4 separate regions of the Homo sapiens genome follow, and regions 2, 3 and 4 are each linked to region 1. Evidence: promoter capture Hi-C in 16 types of primary human blood cells and fetal thymus (Javierre and others, 2016). All regions are on one chromosome and are shown on one strand. The core of a region is centred on a gene start or on the middle of the fragment in contact, and the rest is flanking DNA. Distances in the headings are between cores, read along the strand shown.

Region 1 (3,740 bases), core at 627-3,126:
TTCTTAATGCTTAGTTGTATTTCATCGTATAGATGCATCACAGTTATGTATAGCCACCCACCAGTTCCTGGACACTTGGGTGGTTCCTGGTCTTTTTTCTAACACAACAATAAATTCAGCCTAAATATTTGGCCACTCTCATGCTATATCTATTGTATCATCTCCTGAATTTGTTTCTCTTCTTGCTTGATTATGTCCTCCAAGAATGTCATTCAAATGAATCTTTCATAAGAATATTTTTATTATTAATACATTCTCACATTCTAATGACAATATGGCTTAATAGAAAATAAGTTCAAAGTTATGCTTTTAAATACTTACATATAGAAACATTTTGCTTGAGATAAACCTTTTCAATCTGAAGGTTTTTTTCTACCTTGAAATTTATCTCCATTATATCTTCAAATATTTCCCCTTCTCTGTTTTTATATTTCTTCCTTTCTGTTCTAGTTTTACCCTAGATATAAGCTAGAAAATTTACAAATAAGCTAACTTGTTTTTTAAAACATTTTCTACTGCCTCTGGAGGTTTGCTGAAAGTGCTCTTCCAATTACTAATTCATCGTCAGCTGCATCTTTTAGACTATTGCACATTACTAATACGTAGCATCAATATTCATTCTAATTATTATTTTTATGCTTAATATGTTTTAGTTTCATATTTTTTCCTGATTCATATTGCTAATATCATAACTCATTTTAAATAAATTTATCATGCTTATTTAAAAATCTTGGTCCATCTGCTCTACTGATCAGTTTCAGATGGCATATGTTATTCAGTTGTGGTCTTTTAACAGTAGTTGCACTCCTCCAGTGTCTAATTCTTTGTCCTATGAATTCATGTTCCCCTGGGGTTTCACCTACTCTGTCTGATAAACATGCATCCAGGAAGGCCCAGTGAGTTTGCAGTGGGAGGGTGGTGTGAGCCCAGAAGGAAATCGCTGGCACCAGAGAACCACTGTCTATCATTCCCAGTTTCTCCCACTTACCCAGATCTTTCCTCCAGTCAGGTTTCTACCCTTAGGGAGAAGCAGCACCTAAAGGAAGCAATTAACCTAGCAACCCTAAGGGTGGCAGGGGGAAGGGTAGAGGCTTGATTGAGAGGAGGTGGGGGGAGGTCGGCCTGCAGTTTTTTTTGTTTTTCGTTTTTTAAATTCCTCACCCCAACAGTGCTTTTGCGCTGGTCTGACACTACCTGGAAAACTATGCCACCAGTCGCTTCAGTGGACACTACCATTTCAATTGCGAAGTCAGGCAATGATTGTCCTAAGGCAAGGTGGGAGAGAAGTCAGAGTAAACCACCTCGAGAGCGCCGGTCTCCCGGAGTGTCTGGGTTCGACTCCTGCCTCCACAACTTACTGGGTCTCCTCGAACAAGTTGCATCACCAATGGCCGTGCCTCAGTTTCCCTCCTCCGTAGATTAGGAATAACAATAGCAGTGAGAACAGAATCCAGCACACAGTAAATGCTGCTTACCTGTTTGCTATGTGGAATACGCCACTACACTGTTGCTCGGCCCTCAGGAAGGGTCTGCTGAGACTTTCTACTTCCTGCTCAGGGCAGAGGCCGACCACCCGCCCAAGGTCGTGGCGGCGCCGGCTCAGCTTTAGTCGTCAAAGTGCACATCCTGGGAGCCGCTGCCTCGAGGTGGTTGAGGCGAGAGGGCAGGGAAGCGTCTGAGCCTCTTCCTCCCACCAGAGCAGGACCCCAGCTGACAGCGGGTGAGCTGGGCAGAAACCCATGCCGGGAAGAGGCGGACCCAGTGGACCGCAGCGCCCGCAGTCGCCGGGCCAGGCGCAGAGGCGAACGGGAGGCGGCGCTGCACCGTGCCCGCCCCTCCCCGGCCCGGCCCCGGCTCCAGCCCCAGCCCCAGCCCCAGCCCCGGCCCCGGCCCCGGCTCGCGGGCGCTGCGTCTCCGCGTACAGGAGGCGGCGGCGGCTCCCAGTCACCGGCCCCCGCCGGCGAGCGCACGATGCACTGCCTGGGCGCCGAGTACCTGGTAAGCGCTCGCAGCCTCGGCCCTCGGGGGAGGAGCCCCGGGGAAGGGTCGAGTCCCCCGCCTTCACGCACCTTCCCTGCCGGACGCTTCCGCCTTTCCCGCGCCTCGGGGATCCCGCCCCCGCTTAGTACCTTGGGGCCACCTGGCGGGGAGGAACCTGGACCCTGCTCCAGTGCTGGGGCGGAGGCGGGGGAGACGCGGGCCGCGGGGCGCAAACTTGGGGTCGTCCTCAGGTGCACCTCCAGGTAAGCACTTGGCGGCAGGGGGCTTAACATCCGCTCCGCGCAGAGCAGGTGTTTCAAAGGCTGTGTGAAAGAGCTTCAGGTGGCCACGTAAAAAAATAATATTAATTTTAAAAATTTAGAAAAAGATTGGTTACTTTGGCCCCTCTTCGAGTAGATTTGGGTTCGGTTTCCAGGTTGAGTCCACCTGTTTATCTTCTTTTTCTCAACTCTCCCTTTTTCTGGAAGGTTTCTGCAGAAGGAGCCCCTAGGCAAAGGGAGTGGCGACCCCAGATTTATAGGAAATGCACAGATACGGCATGGTTATTCCTGTTCTTTCTCTTTTGGACTGGTTTGGTAAGTGTGGGTGCTTGGTAGGAAAGAGGCCAGAGTGTGTGTGCACGTCTGGAAATAACTCTGTCCCAAATGTAAATCGTAGTTGGTGCTGCAGTGAGAGACTTCTGCCGTTAACCCACAATAAACATCAGTTTGTACTCGGGAGAATTCTTGTCCTAGACTCGCTAGAAAGGCTGTCTTTTTGCTACAGGCCATGTTCTAAGGGGTGACTCCATTAGGAAATGGGAATTAACAGTTTGCAATGTGATTGCTATTTAGTAAGGCCAATGTGTCTCCTTTTACTCTCCGAACTTACTGAACAGAAGTTCTTTTAGCACCTGCCACACCCCCAAATCAAATATTCCTCAAGCTTTTGGTGCACCTTTAACAAAGGAAAAGCCAGGGTAAGCCTAGAAATAAACTGCATTTCCTTTAGCTGAACATCACACACACACGCGCGCGAGAGATATGTTGTGTTTAGCAGCCAACACTGTTAACCATAGCTAACAAGGAATGATTTTTCCCACTCTAATTTCGAGGTATGTATGATTGCTGGTAAACTCCATCAGGCTATGCGGTTATAATCCTGAGAGAGTCTGTTGGAAGCCGAATCTTGCTGCTTTTATACTTATTTTAGAATTGTAGGTAACAGCAGAAAACGTCTCACCCGACATTTTCAAAGGCCACTTTCACGAAATCATCCATGCCAGGATAAGGCATGCTATTTGCTGCATGGTAAATGATTAATTTATAGAGCAGGGTAATAACTACCAGATAGTAATTACCTTTGTTGAAAAGAATTCCATCTGAATAGGCCCTAAAATATCATGTTTGTTCTTTCCAAGTAAGAAAGGCATTTGTTCACTTATGACCCGTTTCACATAGACAGGCTTGGTTACAGGCACAGTGGAAGGTTAGGTCTGAAACACATAATCAGATGTTTTTTGTTGCTTACGTTGGAACTCTCCCCTAGGAGCTGGGAGAGACAGTGCACCTACAATACCTTCTGCTTAACTTCGCAGATGGTTGGTGTTTTTATCTGAGACTGCTGTTGTATAAATGCAGGGAGCAGCTGGCCTGCCTTGTGCCTGGCAGCTTTGACCTCAAGCTGTTATTGTGATTTAATGATCTGCCGTAGCCCCTCCACAGCTTCAACCTAGGACCTCACTACCAAACTCTCAGCCC
Region 2 (3,740 bases), core at 837-3,336, 230 kb before region 1:
AAAACAAAATTAAAAGTAATCTCATACATTTGTATTTATAAATAGTACCATATTCTCTATGAAATAATACTTAAAATCTTTGAGGATATACACATAACTTCTTCAAAGCCATGACAAGAAATAAAACATACACAAATCCTCAATACTGATATAAATATTTTTAAAGTCTTTCCAAACCAGTGAATCTAAACACTACACTTCCTTCTATTTTTCCCACCCTCCCTCCTTCAAATGAACACTCTTGTTTTCTTTAGGTCCCAAAGGCACTTGAATTCATATACTGGTGATCAGAGACTAAAATTTCAAGAGCTCTTCCTCCCAAGTACTTAGAAATATTTGAAATAATTACATGCAGATAGACTCTCTGGAAGTTAGCTTTCCTTCGAATAATTGGAAACAGTGAGTAGTTGGCATTTTAGAGTTTTTCAAAAGAGATATTAATCAGGGCAACTGTTATGTTCTTGGAGAAGGAAAATATGAGCTATGTGGTAGATAAATATTTTGGCCACAGTTATATCTAAAATAAGAAGATGACACTCCCAGGACTTGACAAAGCTTCATTGGATCAAATATGCAGCTCATGATCCCACTTTTTCTTGAGAATTTGGGGTTGAGAAGTGGCTGGATATCCATATTTGTTGAGATAGTAAAGATTGAAGTCACAATAATGAGAATGAATTAGGCATCCGGGGATAATGAGGCATCTCAGCTGCTCTGAGATATTCACAGGGATTTTTGAGAGACCAGAGAGCTTCTCTGAAGTTTATACACCTGTTCAACTTCCTGTGTGTATTTCTTGAAGATCATTTATGCTCCAGATGCAAGATTCTCTCTTATTTTTCTGGAACTCCAGATCTCACCCTCCTTGTAACAGTTAGTGCTCTCGCAAGCATAACTCTAAAGTTTTCCTGAGGCTGGGGAATAAAAGCAAAACAGAATAAAGTTAGAGGCCTGAACAAATGAAATGGTCCTTCTATTTTCTTTCCGTATGTCAGCATAAAAATCCCCTGTGTGTCTCTTTCAAATATGTGATTATTTTTTAAAAACTTCCAACTCCAGACAATAAATTTTGGTTCTCTGTACTTGGACCAAATGCCTAATAGAATGGGTAAGTTTGGGGAATAATCACCACAGTGGAATACATTATAACAATTAGAATGAACAGCCTGCTACGAATGCAACAATACCAGTGACTCTCATAAGCAGAATGTTGAGTGGAAGAAGCGAGACATAAAAGTTTGCACACTATGTGATTTATTTTATGTGAAATATAGAAACAGGAAAACTAACTGGGATAGGGATTGTCCTTTGTGGGAGGAGATATCAGTGTGTCTTCTGGGGTGTTCGTGACATTGTTTTTTGTTCTAAGTGCTGGTTACACAGTTGTGTTCTTTGCAAAAATTCCTTAGATTGTACACTAATCATACATATCCTTTCTGTATGTTTCATTTCATTAAAAAAACTTTTTAAAAAATGATTTACGAAAGCAGCTGACCCTCAAGCCATTGGCCAAAACCTTTTCTGATTTCAGTCTGCTATCCCTCACTTATCTTTGGCGCTTTCTGTATTTTCTAATTTACCTTGGAAGAAAATCCTTTAAGACTTTTCAAAGTTTTCCATGATGGCATCCCTAGTAAACATAATCAAGCATTTATGATTTTGGGTGGCATAACGATTTCCAGATTTCTCTATCAGGGATTTTGTACACTGTTGTCTAACATGTTATAAACTTCTCAGGGTGTTCTTGTTGGGGTCATTTGAGCTGTCAGCTAAATTATTCCTTTTGTTTGCAAAGATTTCAGGAAAACACATGTTCTTTTATGGCAAGATTGCTGTGGTGATTACCAGCTGGCATGGGTTTTGTGTATTTTATTTAGTGATTTCTTACAGTCACCTGATGATAGAGGGAAACTGGAATAGCTCAGATGCAAGGATGATGGAACACAGATTACAAAAAGACATTTTTTTCTGAGTGTTACTAATGTTTTCAATTTATTCATTAATAAAAAGTGCACAGTATAAGCCTTTTATCCCAATCCAAGTACTCAGTGAAAGATTAACAATAAACACTGGATGGCACAGACATGATTTGTTTGGCATGATTTAAACATATGAAAACAGCAATTAACATTTAATATACCACATGACTACTTTTGCTTTTAACAAAGTAATCATCATATGTGGTAACAAATACATATGATTTTTCATTTAGAAATATTATAAGAAAACCACACTTAATATTGCAACAACAAAAATTTAACCCATTAACTACAAACTCTCTTCATTTTTCCTCCTTCAAGTTGCTGTTTTGTGTCTTAAACTGAGCCAGTCATATTTGAGCACATATTTATTTAGAGTGATAGACTCATTTAGAGTGACAGACTTCCAAGTTTCCCTTGAAAATATAAGATATTGTTAATTATATAAACACTATCACATCACATACCACAAAGACACTAAAAGTACCCATAAAATGGCTATATCCAGTAATTATTTTGGAAAGTCTGTCCAAGCTGTAAAATATGACTTACTGACTATGGGATAGTGCTTGGATAGATAATAAGATAAGCTCAGAAATGCTAGCAGTTTTCAAAGTGTTCCATTTGTTCTTTATTTTTATATGATTTGTTGGTAGAGTTTTCCCAAATATAATTAATAAGCAAGAAAGGAGAGCAGTTAAATTAATTAATTCACCTTTATATTTGTTTAATAGAAGAACCAAAATTTGGTTTTTAAAAAGGTGTTTTATGCCAGTAATGATGTGGAAATCTGCAGGTATCTTAAGCTCATCAGAGGGAATATCTTAAGACAATTTTAAAATGCTTGGGTCCTGAAAAGAAATGTCAAACGTAGTGCAATCATAGCTCACTGCAGCCTTGAACTCTTGGGCTCAAGCAAGCCTCCTGCCTCAGCCTCTGGAACAACTAAGACTACAGGCATGTGCTACTACACTGGGATAATTATTTTTTAATTTAATTTAATTTTGTAGAGATGGGGGTCTCACTATCTTGCCAAGCTGGTCTCGAACTCCTGGCCTCAAGCAATCCTCCCACATAAGCCTCCCAAACTGCTGGGATAACAGGCTTGAGTCACTGTGCCAGGCCCTGACTATTATTTTTTAAACACTAAGTTTAAAAGTTTTCACTGATTATTTAAAATAATAAAAAGTAACAAAGAGGCCAGGTGTGGTGGCTCATGCCTGTAATCCCAGCACTTTGGGAGGCTGAGATGGACGGATCACCTGAGGGGTCAGGAATTCACGACCACCCTGGCCAACGTGGTGAAACTGTCTCTACTAAAAATACAAAAATTAGCTAGGCATGGTGGCTGGCACCTGTAATCCCAGCTACTCGGGAGGCTGAGGTAGGATAATTGCTTGAACACAGGAGGTGGAGGTTGCAGTGAGCCGAGATCATGCCACTGCACTCCAGCCTGGGCAACAGAGCAAGACTCTGTCTCAAAAAACAAAACAAAACAAAACAAAACAGGAACAAAGAATAATAAAATAGGTAGGAATTATCCCGAAATGGAAGGCCGTTCAGTTTCAAACAAGTTGACTTTTCAAGGCAACTAGTTAATTAGTTTTCCCCCAGCAAAGAATCACCTTCCTCTCTCAGGCAAGCTTGAACCTGACAACACTGCTTTCATCCCATGCAGGATGGTCACTGCCGTTTCTGGAACTCTCAGTCCCCCATCAGTGATGGTCTATTACAAAGATCTTTCTCTTCTCCTAGGAAGCA
Region 3 (3,740 bases), core at 588-3,087, 220 kb before region 1:
CTTTCTTGCTAAAATTACCTACTTCACAGGATGTGAGAATTAAATGAGATATGTGTCACTTTGTTTAGCACCAAAGAAACACTAAATAAGTATTGTCAAGTTGAAATCTGAATAGTGCTTTTCTTCTTCTCCCTGTCTTCCTTCTCCTTTTCCCATCCTCACCTGCTTTCTTGGTGCTTACTGAGAACTGACTGTGTCCCCTGGACTGGGGCAGAGGTGGCCCTGCTCTCCAGGAGCTTTGCTTATTCACTTACTCAACCAGTATTTATTGAACTCCAACTTGTACCAGTCTGTCTTCCAGCCCTGAAGACTCAGTGTTGAGGATGAAAAAGTCCCTGTTTACATCCAAGGGTTAATACACCAATACATTAATCAATCCATAGTATAACCTTGAGTACTATTAAGCGCTACAAAGAAAGACAAAGAAGGCTAAAGGGATGGAGAATGGTGGAAGTGAGTTGGAGGCTATTTTACATGGATACATCAAGAAAGCCTCTCTGGAGAAAGTGGCATTTGGGCAGAGTCCTGAATGAGGTGAGGAGGTGGCCCATGAGAGGATCCAGGCAGAGGATGAGGCAGGGGCACAGGAAACAGCATGTGCAAAGGCCCTGAGGTGAGCACAAGCTTGGCATGGTCTCAGGAAAACAAAAAGATCAGAAGGGTATGGTCTCAGGAAAACAAAAATATAGTGAGCTGGGAGAAGGTTGTCACACAGGAGCCTGGAGGCATGGGGTGAGGAGAAGATCACATAGGGCCTCATGGGGCATGCTATGAAGTTTGTTCAGATTGTATTCCAGGATTGATGGGAAGCTATTGGAGAGTTTTGAGTCCTTATATTGTTTATGTGCTTTAAAAGGATCACTTTAGCCACTGGAGAATACAGAAGAGCAAGAGCAGAGGCCCCAACCAGGGGGCTAGTATAGGGACGGAGAGGCAGTATAACACAGTGGGGAAGCCTCCAGGGCCAGACTGCCAGGGTTTGAAGCATGTCTGCCATTGATGAGCAGCATGAGCATGGACAAGTTAAATAACTCACCTGCACTTCACTTCTCTCATCTATAAAATGGAGATGTAATAGGGTTACCACATTGTACAACTCCAGAATCTCCCCCTGGAGTCCGACGAGTGCAGCGTGCACAGTGCCACTCAGAGCTGTGCAATGCAGCGGTCTCCATCATGAGTCCTACCTTGTTGTGTTACCATGAAGATTAAGGCATAACACACATGTAAAGTGTGTAGAACAATGCCTGGTACCCAAGAATATCTCAAAAATATCTGTTATTATTCGTAGCTGAGGTGAGAGATGATGGTAAGTGGATTAAAGTCGTTACAGTGGGGGTGTTGAAAAGTGATAAAATTTGAAATGAAATTTGAAGAAAGAGCTTGTGCTGGTTCCCAGGGCACAACCACTAATGATGATGGAATTCAGAAGCACATCCTTGCCAGGACTTCTAGGTGGGTTTCTTAGTATGATTCTATTTTGGAGCTGAATTTCTCAGAATCTTCCCCACCAGGATGTTTTCCACCTAAAACAATGAGTGGATGTAGTACATATTTTATAGAGTGATTATGAGATTTAAACAGGATCTTGCATGTAAATACCCTAACTTAGTGCCTAGTACATTGTAAGTTTCAATGACCGTTAGCTATCATCGTCATCATCATCTGAGCAGCTCAATGTTTCTGCTTAATGCAGGCACATACCTACAACTCCACAGAAGAGAGATAGCAGCAGTTTTCCCCTCTTGTGAGGAGAGCTAAAGAGAACAGAAGCATTTGGGAATTAAGGTCCTGAGGCCATAGTGTCCCTAAAGGAGGCCTGTTGTTGTGCCCTCAGACACCCTCCATGGCCCTCAAAAGGCCTGGATAAGAACCAGCCCAACCAGGAAGAGAAGCACCGGAACCTAAATAAAGACATAGGATTCAAAAGGCATGATTCACCTTTATTTCATTGGGTTTACCACTTACAGAGCCCAAGTCAACCATGTAAAGCTATGAAATTTATGTTCTATTCCTTTTCCTGACCCGCTTGGCCCTAATGAACCTCAAACACAAATACTGGAGGTGGCAAGGGGACCTCGGCAGGCCCAAGAGCTGCAGATACCCAACTCCTCCCAGGCCCTCCTCAACACCACCCCGCTCTGCTCTGCCCCACTGATGCCAGGTCCTGGTATCATTGCTGTCTGACTACTCACACACCATGAGGTAGCGTCCCTGCTTTTTTTTTTTTTTTTTTCCTGAGACAGAGTCTCGCTCTGTCACCCAGGCTGGAGTGCAGTGGCGCGATCTCGGCTCACTGCAAGCTCCGCCTCCTGGGTTCATGCTATTCTCCTGCCTCAGCCTCCCGAGTAGCTGGGACTACAGGTGCCCACCACCACACTCGGCTAATTTTTTTTGTATTTTTAGCAGAGACAGGGTTTCTCATGTTAGCCAGGATGGTCTTGATCTCCTGACCTCGTGATCCACCCGCCTCGGCCTCCCAAAGTGCTGGGATTACAGGCGTGAGCCACCGAGCCCGGCCGGCAACCCTGTTTTATTTGTTCTTGGATGTATGAACCATATAATTCCTTCTTCAAAAGTCATAAAGGCGAGACTCCAGCCAACAATTCCACATAAAAAGAGAGCGCCATTTTCTCGCTCTCAGGCTTGGTAATGATTCCTGCTGTGAGGCAGTCATTACGGAAATGACTCAGTCTTTCTCTCCTGTGTTAATAAGATTTTACTGTCTTTGGTCCTGACTCAAACTGGCTGAGAGCAATGTGGGGATCACAGAAGCTGTACCAGAGTGTGTCACTATGTAACTTTTCTTAACTTACCAAAATACCATGTGGATAGGAGCCATTCCAGCCCATCGCCTTGCTTCCGAGTTGGCTGTAGTCTTAGCCGGGTTCACACAATGGGCATCTGCTAATCTCTTTCCTTACCTGCCAGGAAGTTGAGGCCAAAGTTCTGTTTTCTCTCTAAAGGCTAATCAAGCTGTAAAGACGGTTAGTGGGCTGAGCTCAAAATAAGGCACCTGAGCTCTCTTTGCATCTCTAACATCCACAACACTAAGCTTCTTCCTGGGGTCCCAGTGTGATAACTGACCCAGGCCCAGATGGCAAACGAAAGCTATTAGGGTGACTGTGGAAACTTCTGTGTCTTCTTCTTGGTTGAAATTATCCTTCTGGAGCACATCTGGAGATCCTGGCCATTTAGAAGCCATCCAGGAGCCATTCATTTATTTGACAGACATTATTGATCACCTACAATCCAATGCCAAACAGCACTAGGCATTGAGTACAGAAAGACAAAAGGCACAGCTTCTAATGTCAGGGACCTCAAGGTGTCATGTAGGGGACTGATGAGAAAGTGAACAATGTGAGTCATATGGTTAGTGCTATAAAATATTCTGGGTGCTACAGAGGCGTTCAAGGAGTACTGACCACACTGGTGGTCAAGAAAGATTTCCTAAAGGAAGACACACTTAGATGACCTGAAGGGTGCACCGGCGCCCTCTAATCAGAGAAAGGCGAGGAAGGAAGCAGAGGGACATTTCTAAAGAGAGAGGGAACAGCACATGCAACAAAGCTGGCTAGCTGTGACCACTAACATCCATTTCCTCCTTCCTGGTCAAATAGCTAGGTGATACCTCCCAGCCTCCCTTTCAGTTGAGGATGCTACGAGACTGCATTCTGGCCAATGGGAGGTGTGCAGAGACACTGGGTGTTCTGGCCTACAAGATCCTCTCGTGTGTTCTC
Region 4 (3,740 bases), core at 841-3,340, 220 kb after region 1:
ACTACTCATCCTGATCCATTTCCTTTTTCTTCCTTGATTTTTCAAATCACCCACTCTCAAACCCATAGAGTTTGTTGTCTCTTTCCCTGCCTCTACAGGAACTAAGCTCCCTGCCTCCTCCTCTCTCTTTGCCCTCTGTGCCCTGTTTTGCACTGTAGGCTTGGGTTACCAAACCCACCTACCACTGTTACCAGTGACCGCCCGCCACCTACCCCGACACATTCCCTAAGCCTTTTAGGGGAAAAATCAAAATAAGAACACAACAGGACCTCAGAAATTTTGAGACTTTTCTGTTGAACTTTAGGCCTCAAGGCCCTTATGGCAAGTTCTGCTGTCCTGCTATTGCTCCTACCTGGCAGTCAGCTGGGTTATATGTTCCTAGAAAGGATGTTTTTGTTTTGTTTTGTTTTGTTTTCTCTCTTTCTTCTCTGTCTCTTTCTCTCTTCTTTCTTTCTTTGTAGTTCAATGTGTATATCCTGCAAAATTTACCTGTCTTCAATATAATCCAGTCTCTTTCACACTATTGGCCAAAGAAGTAAGACTCTTTCTTATTCTCTATCGTATAGAAGAAAACATATTTTAGTGAAACAGTGAAACAACCTTTCCATCTCAGCTTCCTAATTCCTGTAGAACAGGGCCATGTCCCATAGTACTCTGTATGCCCACAAGGCCTCCCAACGCTCCCTATATGAACTTGACTGATGTATAATCAAATATATGGTGGCAAGAGAGACAAGAAAAGTAGGATGCTGAAGAGTGAAAAAACAGAGAAATGGATTTTGTTCAGGCTTCTAGTGTCTGATAGTATATGAAACACTGAGTTAAATACTAACAGTATATGACAACTTGTAACTTTCAAAGTATGTTCCAGAATTACATCACTGTTAAAAACCACAAACATATCTGGCTTTAGATTTGTGAAAACTAAATAGGAGTTTATAGTGATTTAGATGGAAATAATTCCACCAAAGAATCCAGATGGCATCATAAACCACAACAGAGGAGATCAAGTGGTTGATGAAGTCATTCTTTGCTGTTACCACACACTGAAACATACAATACCTTTATTATTTAGTGAATGCCACACGACTGAAAAGTCCTGGAAACAAGACAAAGTTAAAATGGTAAAATTTCATTCAACCAAAAATGGTTTCAGCTTTCTTTCATAACTATTTAAAAATAATGCAATGTATATTTTTAAATGTATGTTGGATGGTTCAACTAATCATTATGAAATCAAGATGACCATAATTTACCACAAAATTTTTTTTTATATGTCCTTCAAGTACTTGGTAGATACTTTATGGTGCTGATGAAATGCCATGAAGTGTCATATAAGTGAGGGTGCTGTGGGCCCCTGATATAGTTTGGTTGTGTCCCCACCCAAGTCTCATCTTGAATTGTAGTTCCCATAACCCCCATGGGAAGGACCAAGTGGAGATAATTGAATCATGGGGGCAGTTCCCCTGTGATAGTGCGTTAGTTCTCATGAGTTCTGATGGTTTTATAAGGGGCTTCCCCCTTTGCTGGGCACTTATTCTCCCTCCTGTCACCCTGTGAAGAGGTGCCTTCCACCATGATTCCAAGTTTCCTGAGGCCTCCCCAGCCATGTGGAACTGTGAGTCAATTAAACCTCTTTTTTTTTTTTTTTTTTTTTTTTTGAGATGGAGTCTCACTCTGTTGCCCAGGTTGGGGTGCAGTGGTGCGATCTCGGCTCACTGCAACCTCCACAACCCAAATTCAAGCAATTCTCCAGCCTCAGCCTCTCAAGTAGTTGGGATTACAGGTATGCGCCACCATACCCGGCTAATTTTTGTAGTTTTAGTAGAGACGGGGTTTCACCATGTTGGCCAGGATGGTCTCAAACTCCTGATTTCAGGTGATCCGCCCACCTCGACCTCCCAAAGTGCTGGGATTAAGGGCGTGAGCCACCGCGCCTGGCCCAAGCTTCTTTTCTTTATAAATTACCCAGTCTCGGGCAGTTCTTTATAGCAGCATGAGAACAGACTAATACAGTCCCATGATGGGTCCTGCTGATAACCACTTACTTTGCATGAATCAAGCTCTCTGGACCTCAGTGTCCCACTGTGAAGCAAGGAGGGCTAGCTGAGATCAGGGATCCTTAACTAGCCACCATGATCCCACAGCTGGCTCAAGACTGGCTTGTCAAAGAGAAATGAGGCTGCACTCCAGCTCTGCCCCAGGGCCTGAAACCACCCCTCACTTTACCTCCAGAAGCTTCTCCTTGCCTGGTGGTCTGAGACTTCAGGGAAAAACAAAGTAGTTTGTTTCTGAAAAAATTATGGGATTCTGGCTCAAAAGATTTTTAAAGCCTTTTATAAATGCACATTTATTCTCTCTCAGCCTTTATTGACTCCTTCTTTTGACAATATCGCAATTTTCCTTTGGGTAACTCATTCCTCTCATATTCTCAGCCGGACGGTTTGGTGGTATTTGCCTCCTGTCCCCTTCACCCCTAACCCTGCCTCTAAGAGTAGGCCTGGAATGGCTGAAGCAACATGGAGGAATCATTCCTGGCTACAATGATTAGCTGAAAGATGGGAGTATAACCCCACTGGAGTACCATGAGGCAGGAGATGTTTGCTGGGGCTCTCTCTCCCATATGCTGTAAGAGATCCTCTTCTTCCTCATGAAGAGGAAGAGACATGAGGCCAGGAGGTGCTACAGGTTTTTGTTACCCTAATGAGAGAGCTTGGAGCTGCTGGAGGCAGCACTGTGGGAAGCCCGGTGGAGCTGCCACTGCAGAAGACAGAGCAGAGAGACAACTCTTGCTATAGGGATATGCCTGGGCAACCGGACCAAGCCTCGCCAGAAATAAGACTGAATTTTTCCTGTTTTGTAAGTTGACAAATTCCCTTTATTGTTCAAGCCAATTTTAAGCGTAGGTTTATGTCACTTGAAGTTGAAGCACCCTTCCTTTGTCCTTAAAATGGTAAGAAAATTGCATTCCTTTTCTTAAAATAAAATATATATATTAAAATCATGTATGAAACAATTGTTTACGACATTGAATTTCAGAGCTGTACTCTCTAAGCATGGATTCATTCACTTGTTTCTTCATTAAACTTTCAACAAGCACCTGCCAGGTGACAGGAACTGGGCTAGGGAAACAGAGGTGAATAAGACATTCACAAGGAACTCACTGCAGTCTATCAGGACAGCACAGGAAAAGTGATAATTGCAGTCAAAGGGATAACTATAATATGAGACAATTATTAAATATAATGTTAGCACCAAGTAAGAAGTAATAAACTGGACCAGGTGCGGTGGTTCACACCTGTAATCCCAGCACTTTGGGAGGCCAAGATACGTGGATTGCCTGAAGGTCAAGAGTTTGAAACCTGCTTGGCCAACATGGTGAAACCCTGTCTCTACTAAAAATACAAAAAATTGGCCACGCGCGGTGGCTTACGCCTGTAATGCCTGTAATCCCAGCACTTTGGGAGGCCGAGGTGTTTGGATCACCTGAGGTCAGGAGTTTTGAGACCATCCTGGCCAACATAGTAAAACCTTGTCTCTACTAAAAATACAAAAATTAGCTGGGTATGGTAGCACGTGCCTGTAGTCCCAGCTACTTGGGAGGCTGAGGCAGGAGAATTGCTTAAACCCAGGAGGAGGAAGTTGCAGTGAGCCAAGATCGTGACACTGCACTCTAGTCTGGTGACAGAGTGAGACTCCATCTCAAAAACAACAAACAAACAAACAAACAAAAACCCCAA

Evidence for each region. The method cuts DNA at HindIII sites, captures the fragments that hold promoters and counts their contacts. A CHiCAGO score of 5 or more calls a contact.
Region 2: a fragment that was not itself captured here is called in contact with the fragment with the promoter of SLC44A3 in region 1 in 2 of 17 cell types (neutrophils and monocytes); the score reaches 6.9 in neutrophils.
Region 3: a fragment that was not itself captured here is called in contact with the fragment with the promoter of SLC44A3 in region 1 in 1 of 17 cell types (neutrophils); the score reaches 5.5 in neutrophils.
Region 4: a fragment that was not itself captured here is called in contact with the fragment with the promoter of SLC44A3 in region 1 in 2 of 17 cell types (endothelial precursors and erythroblasts); the score reaches 7.5 in endothelial precursors.

The regions. Positions count from the first base shown.
Region 1 is chr1:94,818,481-94,822,220 of GRCh38, forward strand. SLC44A3 (solute carrier family 44 member 3) reads left to right here and starts at 1,877. Exons shown (of 15, transcript NM_001114106.3): 1 at 1,877-1,998; 2 at 2,469-2,576. The coding sequence starts at 1,972. It overlaps SLC44A3-AS1 (SLC44A3 antisense RNA 1), which reads right to left and starts at 1,752. Exons shown (of 6, transcript NR_160780.1): 1 at 1,476-1,752. RefSeq lists a silencer at 1,881-2,070. The HindIII fragment of the contact is 9,215 bases long and covers 1-2,923 here.
Region 2 is chr1:94,585,849-94,589,588 of GRCh38, forward strand. All of the region lies in intron 1 of LOC105378861 (a long non-coding RNA gene), which reads left to right. Among named protein-coding and RNA genes, the nearest start is that of MIR12133, 44 kb to the left of the region's middle. The HindIII fragment of the contact is 3,067 bases long and covers 554-3,620 here.
Region 3 is chr1:94,603,251-94,606,990 of GRCh38, forward strand. The region is part of intron 1 of LOC105378861 (a long non-coding RNA gene); the gene reads left to right. Among named protein-coding and RNA genes, the nearest start is that of MIR12133, 61 kb to the left of the region's middle. RefSeq lists an enhancer at 2,145-3,344. The HindIII fragment of the contact is 2,431 bases long and covers 623-3,053 here.
Region 4 is chr1:95,034,784-95,038,523 of GRCh38, forward strand. All of the region lies in intron 2 of ALG14 (ALG14 UDP-N-acetylglucosaminyltransferase subunit), which reads right to left. Among named protein-coding and RNA genes, the nearest start is that of ALG14-AS1, 25 kb to the right of the region's middle. The HindIII fragment of the contact is 291 bases long and covers 1,946-2,236 here.